Linked DNA regions of Homo sapiens: all the other regions are linked to region 1. Evidence: promoter capture Hi-C in 16 types of primary human blood cells and fetal thymus (Javierre and others, 2016). All regions are on one chromosome and are shown on one strand. The core of a region is centred on a gene start or on the middle of the fragment in contact, and the rest is flanking DNA. Distances in the headings are between cores, read along the strand shown.

What was found. The method cuts DNA at HindIII sites, captures the fragments that hold promoters and counts their contacts. A CHiCAGO score of 5 or more calls a contact.
Region 2: a contact is called between a fragment that was not itself captured here and the fragment with the promoter of ZDHHC9 in region 1, in 13 of 17 cell types (activated CD4 T cells, M2 macrophages, M0 macrophages and 10 more). The highest score is 11.2, in activated CD4 T cells.
Region 3: a fragment that was not itself captured here is called in contact with the fragment with the promoter of ZDHHC9 in region 1 in 6 of 17 cell types (activated CD4 T cells, neutrophils, non-activated CD4 T cells and 3 more); the score reaches 10.8 in activated CD4 T cells.

Annotation. Positions count from the first base shown.
Region 1 is chrX:129,842,094-129,847,149 of GRCh38, reverse strand. ZDHHC9 (zDHHC palmitoyltransferase 9) reads left to right here and starts at 3,264. Exons shown (of 11, transcript NM_016032.4): 1 at 3,264-3,454; 2 at 3,824-3,891. The HindIII fragment of the contact is 4,624 bases long and covers 2,482-5,056 here.
Region 2 is chrX:129,924,018-129,928,806 of GRCh38, reverse strand. It overlaps UTP14A (UTP14A small subunit processome component), which reads right to left. Exons shown (of 15, transcript NM_006649.4): 12 at 3,612-4,012; 13 at 2,695-2,888; 14 at 2,468-2,567. The region is part of intron 2 of LOC105373335 (a long non-coding RNA gene); the gene reads left to right. Among named protein-coding and RNA genes, the nearest start is that of UTP14A, 20 kb to the right of the region's middle. RefSeq lists a silencer at 3,024-3,073. The HindIII fragment of the contact is 700 bases long and covers 2,848-3,547 here.
Region 3 is chrX:129,747,411-129,751,835 of GRCh38, reverse strand. It overlaps XPNPEP2 (X-prolyl aminopeptidase 2), which reads right to left. Exons shown (of 21, transcript NM_003399.6): 7 at 4,083-4,229; 8 at 1,267-1,368; 9 at 10-91. Among named protein-coding and RNA genes, the nearest start is that of XPNPEP2, 11 kb to the right of the region's middle. The HindIII fragment of the contact is 2,211 bases long and covers 145-2,355 here.

The DNA of each region.
Region 1 (5,056 bases), core at 2,015-4,514:
TCTACACACACATGCATTTATAGCCAGAAAGCAGAAAGAGATGTGCAAGTCAGAGAGGTGGGGTGGAAAGGGCTGTGTGTGTGGGGAGGAGGGCAAAGTGACATGACAAGTTTGAGGCTACAGAAAATAGAGAATAAAGGAGCTATCATGAGCTCAAAAGCAGGATGGGGGCTGATGCTTTATGTCTGCTCCTGGATGTAGTACTGAATGGGTCTCCGGGTGGTTACAGAAGAGTCTTTGAAGCAACACTAACAGGAAAGCTTCAACCCAGTGGTGGCACTCAGGATCAAACAGCACATTACACCTACACCTACACACGCCTACACACACACACACACACACACAAACACACACACATGAAGAATAAATGTGGAGACAGGTATTTTTAAACAAATACTCCAGAACATACATGATAACACAAGGAGCTGTCTTATAAACTGGAAGGCTATACCTTGATTTTTGTGGTGTTTCTAGTGCTCATCACATGACTATAACCCCTTTTCTTCTCTCTCTTTCTTTCTTTCTTTCTTTCTCTCCCTCTCTCTCTCTCTCTCTCTCTCTTAGATGGAATCTCGCTCTGTCGTCCAGGCTGGAGTGCAGTGGAGCGATCTGGGCTCATTGCAACCTCCGCCTCCCAGATTCAAGTGATTCTCATGCTCAGCCTCCTGAGTAGCTGGGATTACAGGCACCTGCCACCATGCCTGGCTAGAGATAGGGTTTCACCATGTTGGCCAGGCTGGTCTCAAACTCCTGTCCTCAAGTGATCTGCCTGCCTTGGCCTCCCATAGTGCTGGGATTACAGACGTGAGCCACTGTGCCCGGCCTATAACCTCTTTTCAAAAGAGCCAACACTGACTTGGATGTAAAAAGTGGGAAGTCTGTTGAAAAGAGAAGAGAAAAGAATAGGAAAAAACAGTCTCAGTTTATAGTCACAATTTAGTTGTGTGTGTGTATTAAGACTTTAAGGATTATATAAAATGATGTAACTACATAGGAGGAAGTACTATGGGATGTTTGTCCACATAAATTTTCCTTATTTTTCTTTGAGTGTTGAGAATAAATAATAACAGATTGTAATAAAACAAGCCTGACTCACATAGCCACTTAGTCCGAGAGGGAATGTGACCCAGAGCAGGGAGGGACAGAGCTCAGGAATGTGTCACCATGACACATCGATTCCAGGACTCCTCAGGCTTCACCTGCACCTGAGCTATGGACAAAATATGTTTGAGTGCTACAGAGGCTTATTTTTCACTGCTCCATAGTCAGAAGGATGGCAGCTGGGGTGACCATACTATTCCTAAGGGCATCTGATATACATAGGCTTGGAAATCCACAGGGCTGATGAGGTTTAGGGAAGTTCTTCTCCCTCCCATACCAAGTGTGTGCAATACCAGCACCCTCCAGAATTCAAAGCGGGAGAATTGGAGGCAATGATACTGATCGTACACTTCATGAGGAATAAACTGTTGATCATAATCAGCATGAGTGCTAAGGAACAATGGAAGCTTTATAAAGACAAACCTTCCTTTGCAAGTTAATTACAACACATCTCAGAATTACCTAGTGTTTTTTAAATCCTTTAAGAATTTTGAAGGGTGCCATGAAAGTGTCAAATGTAATTATTATGTAGCTTTTTGTTTCATATTGTGTGGGACACATATACTGTAAAGGAAAAATAGTTCTTGACCATGTATGTGGTCCTTCAACTAACATACAACTGCCTTAGGAAGAGCTTTGGCAGTCTCTTCTGTACTAATTCCAAATACCAAATCTCTAAAACTTTGAAATTTTTATCACGCTTAGGAAAACCTAGGCTGGTAATGTAGGCATTCTCCTCCAATCTTCAACCTTTTCTCTTATCTCCTCTTACACTTGGAAAGGAGATGCCACCTTCAACCTTTTCTCATATTTCCTCTTATATTTGGAAGGCAGGAGCCATACTGGTGAAAACAGACCTAGTGTCTTTTAAAGTCACCCTATAGTATAATACTGTGGTTCTCAATTGTTTCCCCCCTTCAATCTCAAACTTTTTTTTTTTTTTTTTTAAGACAGGGTCTCTCTCTGTCGCCCAGGCTGGAGTGCAGTGGCATGATCTTGGCTCACTGCAACCTTCACCTCCTGGGTTCAAGTGATCCTCCTGCCTCAGCCTCCCTGGTAGCTGGGACTACAGGCGAGTCCCACCGCTCCCCGCTAACTTTTGTCTTTCTAGTAGAGACGGGTTTTGCCATGTTGGCCAGGCTGGTCTTGAACTCCTGACCTCAGGTGATCCACCTGCCTCGGCCTCCCAAAGTGCTGGGATTACAGGCGTGAGCCACCGCGCCCAGCCCAATCTCAAACTTTTAATGCATGCAACTCACTCGGATCAGTAGCAGTGGCTCATGGTGGCAGTAATGCAGAGCTGGGTGGCAGAAGGAAAAAATCAATCTGGTTGGTGGGTGGGAATTCTGCCTTGGATTCTCCCCTTAATCATCATAAGCTTTCCAAACCGAATAAAAATTTACAACCTTTTTGGCAATCTTTACTTCATTACCTACCTGGAAGAATTTATGTCCTCAGTGGAGTTTCTTTAACTCCATTAATGTCAATTAGTTGTTTTAGGTGCTGCAAAATGATAATACGTTCTTGGGGACATTTATCCTTTACAACATGCTTTTTATGCTTGTTTGTGTGTTTTGATTTGAAAGACTTAGAGATGCAGGCTAGGGTGACTGGGACAGATATGGGGTCCCTGGCTACTGAATGAGACTTGGGAGGCAGATGACTTGTTTTTATGCCGATAAAGAGTAAAATCTCAAGTTGCGGTTGATTTTAAAATGCAAGCAGGGCTGGAGAGGCCCATGGCAGACCTAGTTTGGGGTGAGCACCCGGATCTGTGAGCTAGTGTTGCTTCAGCATCTCACTGTGTGTGTGTGTGCGCGCGCGTGTGTGTGTGTGCGCGCGCGCGCGCGTGTGTGTAGGCTGGTTCCACCCTTTGCTGTCCCATCGGCACTACCCTTAACCTCCGTCTCTGCGTAACTATATTAATAGAAGGCAACACTTCACATACTGGCGCTCAGACCCCAAAGAGAGGCTGGCAGTGGCTTGGCAGGTGGGCATGCAGCAGGGAGATGGGTGGAGGAGTGGGCGGAGGCATCGTCGAGTGGCGTTAGGCAAAACCAATGGCAGTTCGGGATAGGGGCGGCCGGGGCGGAGGCGCCGAGGCCGATCGGCCAATAGAGGGCGAGCAACTACTGGAGCGACCTGGTGACGTGAGGAGCGTTCCATTTGGCCAGTGGTGGGCGGTTGCCACAGCTGGTTTAGGGCCCCGACCACTGGGGCCCCTTGTCAGGAGGAGACAGCCTCCCGGCCCGGGGAGGACAAGTCGCTGCCACCTTTGGCTGCCGACGTGATTCCCTGGGACGGTCCGTTTCCTGCCGTCAGCTGCCGGCCGAGTTGGGTCTCCGTGGTTCAGGTAACGAGGGGTGGGGGCGGGGGTCTCCTGGGCTCGGCTGCAGGGTGGGCTGCCTCCCCTTCCGCGGCGCCTGGAGGCGGGGACGTCGGCACCGCCCTTCTCAACTCGGCAGCCGCCGAGCCCCTGGCCCGGGGTGACTACACGTGGCGGGGCGTGTGTGAGTGTGTACGAGCGTGTGGCTGCGTGTGCGTGTGGATGTGGCGCGCGTCCCAACCTGCCTGGGGCGGTGGTCCGCGGCGTGGCGGAGTCAGGGCGGGCCTCGAGAGGCCGCGCCCGCGGCTCGGCCCCGGACTCCGGCCTCCGGCCTCCGGCCCCCCGCTGGGGAGCCGGTCGCTGCTTCCCGACGGATTTTGATCTTTGTTCTTCCAGGCCGGCTCCCCCTTCCTGGTCTCCCTTCTCCCGCTGGGCCGGTTTATCGGGAGGAGATTGTCTTCCAGGTTAGTTTTACACAAAGGACGGGTTCTCTGCACCTCTGGGCCCCCCTCCCCTTCCCCGAACCTTCTACCTTCTCGTTTCCCTGCTCCGCTCCTAGGCTGTTTTTGGACCTTTGCCCTCTCCAGCCCGCGAGTTGGCTGTTTCTCCCTCCGTCCGTCGGGCTGCAGGCTTCCGCCTCAGTCCTGCCAGCGTGGGGCATGTGGTGTCGGTAAATAGAGGCCACAACACCACACCTGAGCGGAGGAGAAGGGTAGCAGAGGCTGAGAAACTCTGGGCCTGGGAATTCAGGATGCTGAGTAGAGATGGTACTTAGGACATGTCCCAGAAAGCGCCCTTGTGACTTTTCTTAGCTGCTGCCATTCCCCACCCCCCAACCAGCCATCAGCAGTCACCAACCATTCCAGAATCTCTCCTGCTTAAGTCAGCCTTTCACCTACAGGTCTCTGATGTGGTTTCATTAAGATTCTCACAAATGTTAGGCTAGACCAGCCAGATTGTTTCATTTCCCGGACTCAGGAAGTTGCAGAGGGTTTGATGAGGGGAAATCTGTTTTGTGTAAATACAATGCACGTATGTGCACAGAGCGTCCAGAACCTCCTGGCCCTGCCAGAGGGTGACTTGTTCCCTGCTGTGATTCATATTCGAGTGGCTAATTGAAGAAAGAAGGTGAAGTGGAGGAAGGGAGGGAGGTTTTATAAGGACAGAAACTCTACTATTATTTTTAGAGTCCTTTTAATGATGTTGAAAGAACACTGTGGCATAGTGGAACATGCCCTTGACTGGAAGTTAGCAGTATCAGCATTGCTGCTGTGTGGTCCTGGATAAGTTATTTCCTCTCTCTGGTCCTCAGTTTACTCATTTACAAAACAAAGTATTAATAATTGGCACGATCACCTATAAAATCCTCTCTAGTTCCAAGGTTCTGTGATGATCAGATCATCAGCATTAGATTGGAAGCATAGAGGCTTATTTAAGAAGAAATACTAGCCCCTTTCCTTTTTTGAGAACCTTTTATCATACCTTCTTTTAGAGAACAAACACGAATTGGAAATAAACTTTTCCCACTTCCCCGTCCCCACCCCTTCAGTCAGTTTTCAACTTTCTGTCTCTGGGAAAGGAGGGTTGAACTGTATTTTCTTATTATTGCCTCATTTTTTTTTCTTTTTC
Region 2 (4,789 bases), core at 1,948-4,447, 82 kb before region 1:
CTTTCAGTCTCCTCCTTCCCTCTCTTAGGATTGATATTTTTTTTTTGTTTTTTGAGACGGAGTCTCGCTCTGTCGCCCAGGCTGGAGTGCAGTGGCACGATCTCCGCTCACTGCAAGCTCTGCCTCCTGGGTTCACGCCATTCTCCTGCCTCAGCCTCCCGAGTAGCTGGGACTACAGGTGCCCACCACCACGCCCGGCTAATTTTTTGTATTTTTAGTAGAGACGGGGTTTCACCGTGTTAGCCAGGATGTCTTGATCTCCTGACCTCGTGATCCACCCGCCTCAGCCTCCCAAAGTGCTGGGATTACAGGCGTGAGCCACCGCGCCTGGCCAGGATTGATGTTTTAAGGAACCCGAATCCTGAACTCTACCAGGCCGTTACACTTAGTTTCATCTTTTTTTTTTTTTTTTTTTTTTTTTTGAGATGGAGTCTCGCTCTGTCTCCCAGGCTGGAGTGCAGTGGCGTGATCTCGGCTCACTGCAAGCTCCGCCTCCCAGGTTCACACCATTCTCCTGCCTCAGCCTCCCTAGTAGCTGGGACTACAGGGGCCTGCCACCATGCCTGGCTAATTTTTTTTTGTATTTTTTTTTTTAGTAGAGATGGGGTTTCACTGTGTTAGGATGGTCTCGATCTCCTGACCTTGTGATCCACCCGCCTTGGCCTCCCAAAGTGCTGGGATTACAGGTGTGAACCACCATGCCCGGCCCACTTAGCTTCATCTTCTTTTGGCACCACAGAATGTAGAGCTGGAAGGCCCTAGATATTGACAATGGTCATCTCCCTTGGCCTGAAGATTTGGCTTAGAGGGGGGAAGTGATGGACCTAAGTAAATGAGGAGCAGCATTGGAGAACAGAACCCAAAGCTCCTGTTTCCTTGCCTGGTACTCCTCCACCACATTGCTACCTTCAGACATTAAATAATCTTTCAACACTTCCCCAGTGGCCAAAGGAGGAAAACACGTAAGCAGAAAATGGGGATGTAAAAATCAGTAGTCTTTGGCAGGGTACGGTGGCTCACACCTGTAATCCCAGCACTTTGGGAGACCGAGGCAGGCAGATCACTTGAGGTCAGGAGTTCAAGACCAGCCTGGCCAACATGGTGAAACCCTGTCTCTGCTAATAATACAAAAATAAGCTGGGTGTGGTGGCGCATGCCTGTAATCCCAGCTACTCAGGAGGCTGAGACACGAGAATAGCTTGAACTTGGGAGGTGGAGGTTGCAGTGAGCTGGGATCGTGCCACTGCATTCCAGCCTGGGTGACAGAGTGAGACTCCATCTGAAAACAAAACAAACAAACAAAAATCAGTAGTCTCTGGAAACATTCAGTGGAATACTCAAGAGAAGCTAAGTACTATCAGGTGGTCCTGGTAGTAGCAAAGGAAACAGATTCTCTTTAAGTTAAGGGAATGTCTTATTTGGGTTGACGGCTACATCTGTGCTTGTCAACCAGGGCAACAGAAAAAGAGAACACCTGGACAAAGTATTCAGTCTCAGAAGTCCCCCCTAGGCACCTTGAAGCACTTTATTCTACTGCATGTTGGAACCTGCAGTAACTTATTAAAAAGATGAAAATCAGGGGAGATTCCTAGAAAACTATTTGTCAGTTTGCCATGACTGTATTAAAAAAACAAACAGACCCCTGGAAGGGAAGGGTGGTCTTTATTGAGCTCCATACTCTACCCATCACCTGGAATCCTGGCCCACTGAAGCACCCTTTCCCCCCTTCCCTTATCGTGTAACTGCCTATTTTCTAGTTATATAGGTTTAATTGGGACTGCAGTAGTTATGATTCAGTTTCTGCAGTGATTGGTTCACAAAATAAGATCAAAAAGAATGTTATTGAAATGTGTATCTTCTTACCTCTGTTCTGTAGCCATTAATTCTTTATTCCTTCCGAGGGAAAAATGTAACTCATTTCAATATACTGGCTGGGGACAGATCTCAGAATTGAAGGGAACATAAAGGTCATCTAGTCCAATCTCGTTCTTGAGTCCCCTTTACACATTCTCATACTCCCAGAGCAGCCTTGAATTCTGTATGTCCTCTAACTTCTACTTTATGTGACTTCATACAATAACCTTCGATATACTTGAACACCGTAATCACGCTCAAATTTTCTTCTCTTGTAAACATCCCTAGCTCATTATCATGTGACACAACTTACAATCTTCTCATTCTCCTGAACAAGTACCGGTTTGTCTTCATTTTTCTTAAGCTACAGCTTAAACCTTATAGCCTCTGTTTGAGCATTACCTTGACTCTAAACTTTTTTCCTGGCCAGTAATTAAAACAGCGTAGTCTATCTGAAATGATAAATCTAACAGCCATTCAGTGAAAACAACAGATTTGATTCTGCGGTCAAGATCACACGTCTCTCTTGACTACAGATCACTAGAATACTCCTCTCAAGCAAGAGAGCCAGGCAGTAACAAGCAGGCAGCTAAAGAGCTCTCTAAGCTCTCACCTGATGAGCAGCTGCGTGGATGTTGCGCTTCTCATTGATAATCACATTTGGCAAATTCTTATCTTTTCTTGGAGGACCCTCAGGGGCTTTAATGAGAAACCTGGAAAGCAAAACAACAGGACATCTGACTAGGAGCATTAAGGACTTAGTCAAAAGGGTAGGGAGGACACCGAAGGGCGAGGGGAGAACCCGGTGCCCTTTTGACAGACTTTCTTCGGCATTCTTACCGGCGTCTTTTCTTGGCACTGGGCTTTAGGCCCACACCACCCCACTCGCCCCAGCCAGGTAGTGTCAGGTCCACGTCCTTTGGCTTACTCGCCTCCACAGCTTCCCTCTTCTCTTTCAAGAAATCTCTGATGACATCATCCCCAGCAAAAGCTTCCTTTATCATCTGCCTATGGTTTCTCTCCTCTTCATCTTCCTGGGAAGAAACAAGCGAGAGCTACAGCTTGGCTTATGAGCTGTGGTTCATGGCGAGAACGCTTGAATTTCGGGTCGTGACATTTTAGCGCCCCCTAGGGGGAAGTGCTGAACAATGATGGTCTTGCGATACAAACCAGTGCACAGCCAATCATGCTCAAATTTTCTTCCCTCTAGGGTAAATATCCCTAGCTCATTATCATATGACACAATTTTAAACTTTTCAGTAAGGAAGCTGCAGGGTGGAGGAAGGAATGGCCCGTGTTAGCAGCAGGAGCTCTAAGTGGCCAGACTGTAGGCTTCCTCCAGCTTATATCCCTGAAAAGACAGGTGCCAGGACGCTTCACTTTAAGTTTCAGATTAACTGGGGAGTCTTAGACCATCTGAGATCCCACTGAATAAAACTTTCGCAACAGTTCAATGACTCACCTTCAAGTTGTCCTGCCTGGGATCTGGTCAGAACTCTGAGTTACTCCCTCTTACCTCTGAGAGCAGTTTTAGAGTCACCCCAGAGGAGTTTTTGTGGATCAGGCTTTCGGAAATAGGGGTCTTGGCAGCACCCATATATCTGCATCTATTAAAACGTCACTGGGACTAGCCTGGCCCTATACTATTCTGGACCTCTAAACTACTGAAATGTGCCCCCAGCAAAACAAAGCTTCATTACTCCTTGCGCAAGAACGACACTTTCTGAACAATGGCCCACCACCCTGGCTCTGCTCACCAGCTCCTCTATTGTGGGAACTGCCAAAGACTTCACGGAGGGAGATTGTGTGGTTAGGAGGTTCTGTAGGTCGATCATTTGCTCCTTCTTTTTCTTCTCCTTAGGGGCATCAGGGCGATTATTTGGGGTCCTCTCTGACTGCTGCCCTTCTAACACAGGTCTGGGAAGCTCCTTATTTTGAAAACATTCTTCTTTTCCCAGCTCTTCTAGCTCTTCCAGCGTCTGTACTCTCTCTGGTCTCTGTAGCAACAGGGGCTCCTCTTCTTCTGGGGCAGGTTCCTCTCTCTGGACCTGGGGAATAGTCCCCTCTGAACTTGCTTTTTGCTTCCTGGACTGATGGTTTTCCTTCAATTTCTGAGATAGTACTCTCAATTCAGACAGCACCTCCTGGCTGCCAGAATCTGGGGGAAAAAAGAATGAAAACTGTCAGAAAATGAGGTTTGTACGTTGTCTGGTCGGTAAGCATTTGTTGAGCACCCACCAAGTGCTAGGTACCACATAAGACATTATAAAAAGGACAAACGGGGAAAAGAAGATTCTGTACATTGAATCTCCTAGACAGTACACTAATCATAGCAGGCAACGGAGTTTGGTAATTAAAAGTAGCATGTGGCCAGGTGCGGTGGCTCACACCTGTAATCCCAGCACTTTGGGAGGCCGAGGCGGGCAGATCATGAGGTCAGGAGATCGAGACCATCCTGGCTAACACGGTGAAACCCCATCTCTACTAAAAATACAAAAAATTAGCTGGGCATGGTGGCATGTGCCTGTAGTCCAGCTACTCAGGAGGCTGAGGCAGGAGAATCACTTGAACCAGGGAGGCAGAGGTTGCAGTGAGCCGAGATTGTGCCACTGCACTCCAGCCTAGGTGACAGAGCGAGACTCCGTCTCAAAAAAAAAAAAAAAAAAAAAGTAGCATGTGAGATGTTGGATATGGTGGCTCACGCCTGTATGCCAGCACTTTGGGAGGCCAAGGGGGCAGGATAGCTTGAGCCCAGGAGTTCGAGACCAGCCTGAACAACATAGTGAGAACTCATCTCTACCACCTCCACCCCTCCAACAACAACAAAAAATTTCCAGGCATGGCGGTGTGGATCTGTAGTCCCACCTACTTGGGAGGCTAAGCTGGGAGGATTGCTGGAGCCAGAAGGTCAAGGCTGCAGGAAGCTGTGACTGTG
Region 3 (4,425 bases), core at 1-2,500, 93 kb after region 1:
AAGCCATACCTAATAGAAGAGTCTGTGAGCAGCGTGTAGGAATAGAAGAAGGGGTTATAGGGGATGTCACTGGCTCGAAGGTTGAAGAGCCCTGGGAAGAGAATTGACAAGGAATATTTAATGCTGATCTGCCTGAGGCAAGCTTTTCTTTTCCTCTTTTTTTCCTTTCCTTCCTTCCTTCTTTCCTTCCTCCCTTCCTTCCTTCCTTCCTTCCTTCCTTCCTTCCTTCCTTCCTTCCTTTCTTTCTTTCTTTCTTTCTTTCTTTCTTTCTTTCTTTCTTTCTTTCTTTCTTTCTTTCTTCCTTTCTTTCTTTTTCTTTCTTTTCTTTCTTTTTTGACAGTATCTTGCTCTGTCACCCAGGCTGGAGTGCAGTGGCAAGATCTCACTGCAATCTCCACCTCGCAGGTTCAAGCAAGTCTCCTGCCTCAGCCTCCCAGGTAGCTGGGTTTGCAGATGCCTGCCACCATGCCCAGCTAATTTTTGTATTTTTAGTAGAGACGGCGTTTCAACATGTTGGTCAGGCTGGTCTTGAACTCCTGACTTCAGGTGATCCGCCCACCTTGGCCTCCCAAAGTGCTGGGATTACAGGCGTGAGTCACCGCACCCGGCCAGAGGCAAGCATTTCTGACACTTTTGCCCCACTGTTTCCTTTGGCCTCCAAAGATTACCAACAGCATGCTTGTATCATCTACCTCTGCATGTTACTCAATCTTTTTGCCGGGGGGGGGGGGTGGGGGAGTGGGCGTCTTTGAGATGCTGTTGAGAGTTATGGATCTTTTCCCCCCAGAAAAATGCAGATACTTAGCAGTCAGCACACAGTTCCAGTGGGTCCCTGGAATATCTGAAGCCCAGCCATAGGGATCAGACAAGAAGTCCTGAGCCATGTCGGAAAGAGTAGAGTCCCACTGGGTGCTAAAGCTGGGAGTGTGAGTGCCCTGGGGTAGTGGCTAAGTTGTTGGGAGGCATTTCCTGGTCCTCCTCCCCTTAGTGGGACAGAAGCACTTTGCTGCCATAGTCAGTTCGTTCCTCTGGTGGCCTGTGGGCTGGTCCCAGCTTGCTCAGGGCTACCTTTTGTCCTTTTTCTGAAGCCATGAGCTCCTGCCCCCTTACCCTTCTTGGTTCCCACGGGCTGTGGCCATGGAGTTCTCAAGAATTGGTGGGCACATGGTTATTTGGGGAAGAGCTAGCTCTGTGCTGCAGGGCCCGGGAGGCTTGGGGCATTGGGGAGACCCAGGCGCCCACCCATGTCTGCAAATCCACACTCACAGGCCGTCTCCTCAAGCGCCGACAGAAGGACGGCAGTCGGGACCTTTTGATGCTTCTGCATCTGGCTTCGGACGCCAGATACTTTCTCCTGCCAAGTGCTCCCTAGAAGCAAAGGAGCCCCAAAAAAGTGTAAGTGACAGACCTTGCCTTTGGCACTCGGTTCCTGGAAGGTCAGCCTTAGGGTAACAGTTTTGCATCCTCTTAAAAAGCAGCGAAACCCTTTCCTCAAACAAACTCTTACTTGTGTACTCATTAATGACATGGGCCCTGGACCCAGATGGGGCTCAAATCCTGGCTTTGCCATTACTGGATGGGTGACCTTGGGCAAATTACCTAACCCCTCTGTGTTCCATTTTGCACATTTGTAAAATGGGGATGGAGTATAATAAGCATCTGCCTCAATAGGGCTGCTATGAGGATGGAATGAATTAATATTTGTAAAGCACACAGAATGGTATCTTGAGATGTAGTAACTCTTGTATCTTTCTGATTAATAAATAATCATGCAGACTGAGATCAAGAGAGCAGTCCTAGTTGAAGGACAAAGGGGTAGGGCTGGGGCCGTGTTCAACTTTCTCTGCAGTAACCCCAGTATTTACTAAGCCACGGGTACTGGGCTAAGCACTCCATGTGCATTGTTCTAATTCTTACCCATCCCATTTTACAGATAAGGAAACTGAGGCTTCAGAGAGGTAAAGTGACTTGTCTAGGGTTTCATGGATGCAAGAGGTAGAGCTGGGATTTGAACTCTGGTCTGTCTGACTGCATGGCCCACGCTCTTAATCTGTACAGACACCGTACTGTCTTGATAACATTCTCAGTCTCCAAATCTGTCCTTAAACTCTGTGTCACAGCACCGTCCTTTCTCAGATGCTTATATCTGGGTTCTATGACTTTAGTTTTCATCTTCTATCCCTGCCCCCTGCAAGATATTCAAAGAGTCTACCCCTAGGCAGGACTAGGAGTTTGCTGGCCGAAGGCCATAAACATTAAGGGTCCTAGTTGGGTTCAGATATGAGCATAAATAACTTAATGTCGTGAAAAATATTTCATGTGAACAGGTAAAACTATTCAACAATGACCAAAGCTTTGGGTACAATACATTTTTGTAGGTTTATTTTACTACATATTTTACACATAATTTATGTTATGTGTATTTTACACATAACATAAAACATATCATTTTAATCTTTTTAAAGTGCACAATTCAGTGGCTTTCAGCATACTCACAATGTTGTGCAACCATCGCCACGATCTAATTCTAGAACATTTTCTTCATCCCCAAAGGAAACCCTGTACTCACTAAGGAGTCACTCCCTATCCCCCCTCCCCTGAGCCCCAGGAAATCCCTAATCTATTTTCTGTCTCTATGGATTTGCCAGTGCTGGATATTTCATACAAATGGAATTGTACAATATGTGGCCTTCTCTGACTGGCTTCTTTCACTTGCAATTATGTTTTCAAGGTTCAGGAATATGATACCTTTCTGAGAAACCAAATGAACCCAAATTTCAATGGTCTGGTGCGTACAGGTATGTTTGAGTAGCGAACTTTTCATGTTCTGCCCTTTGCACTCTCCTTTCTCCTTTAAAATCTGCAAGTGGCTGGAAAGTCTCTCTCGTCTTTATAAGCTTATTGAAGCTGAACTCTGTTCTTCGGCTTCCAAACTCAAGCTCCAGGTGCCTTTTTCTTGAAGACTGGCAGCGGGTGATGACTCGGCATCCCCTCACTTTTGGGAAGTGACAAAACCCTTCCAGCCCCAGGAAGGTTTTTCTTTTTTCCCTTCCCCTTCCCGACATAACTTTGACTTTCTTTATCTGAATAAGATGAGTTTTATTTATGATTTAACAGTCTTGGATAACAAATTTCTTTAAAAATGGTGTCAAGATGCAGAAAGAATGATTCTGGAAGTTACATCAGAACAGATAAAGAAAAATGGACACAATTTTCACTTGTTTCGTCATGGCTGCTATTTTGAAATCTCCCTCCTGCTGTATTGGCTCCTTTCTAAGTGAGAAATTATGTGGACTTGCATGCGGAAAGGGATCTCTTGGCTTGATCAATGTTACTAGGAATCCAAGTTCATTGGCTCATTCAGAATTCCCAGGGAGATAGGACTGGTTGGTGGCCAAGACACTGATTCATAATCAGTAGGCTGGTCCTGGTCAGGACTTTAGTTACGACTTACAGGAATCTTACAACATACTGTTCTTTTGTGATGGATTTAGATAGTGTCAACGGGGTCAAGGTTATTGATGTTATATTTTTCTAACCTTCCTGATTGGTCCAGCAAAACCTGAACTGTAATCTGTGCTACAGAATGACTCTGAACTTAGTTATTTACTTCCTCTGTCCACTCCTGGCCCACCTGACCCCAGCCATCTCACAAATCTAAATTCTTCATCACAAGAGGGTCAGAAGTAAAGGTCTGAATGATTCATTATGGATCAGTCTCTGCCACCAGGCAAGCAAATCATATCATGATTTTTTCTCTCTTGAAAGGGGTTGGATATTTTCTCTCATCTTTCTCTGTTTCCCTTCTTTCCTCCCTTCCTGCTCCATCTTGTTTCAAATCCTAACATTCTTTAACCCAACATTTTCTAAATATGGCCGGAGGACATTTTGATTCAGACTCCTCAAGGGGAGGGGGCCCTGAAATCTGCATTTTAAACAAGCATCCCAGGTGACTCAGGTGCATGCTAAGGTTTGCAAACCACTGCTTTGGTACCTCTGATGATGAAGTTTGCCACCTACGGAATAGCAGCCGGGACCTGCGTTGCTACAAGTTGGGAAGGAAACTGGGCTTACTGAATCACCTGTGAATGCCTCCTGCAGGGCATAAATGGGTTGATTTGGAACCGGTGGCCTCTCTGATCCCCATACCAGGTCCACAAGATTGGTTGTGATGGACACCAGCTGTCTGTTAGAGCCTTGGAGGGCCAGATCATAACTCTCCCAGGTGTCTGCAGAGACAAGAAGGAGTCACTTGTCCCTTGCCCATTTACACCCCAGGAAAAAATTGTGATTCAGGCAAAGTTAGTCCTGGTTCCCTTTGCCTCCCTTTGCAGCCCAGCTGCCCGGAGCCTGCCCCAGCAGCCTGCCCACCCCCCACCCCCGGCATGTATGCCCACGCTGGGGTATGTTTCTCATCCTCTTTCT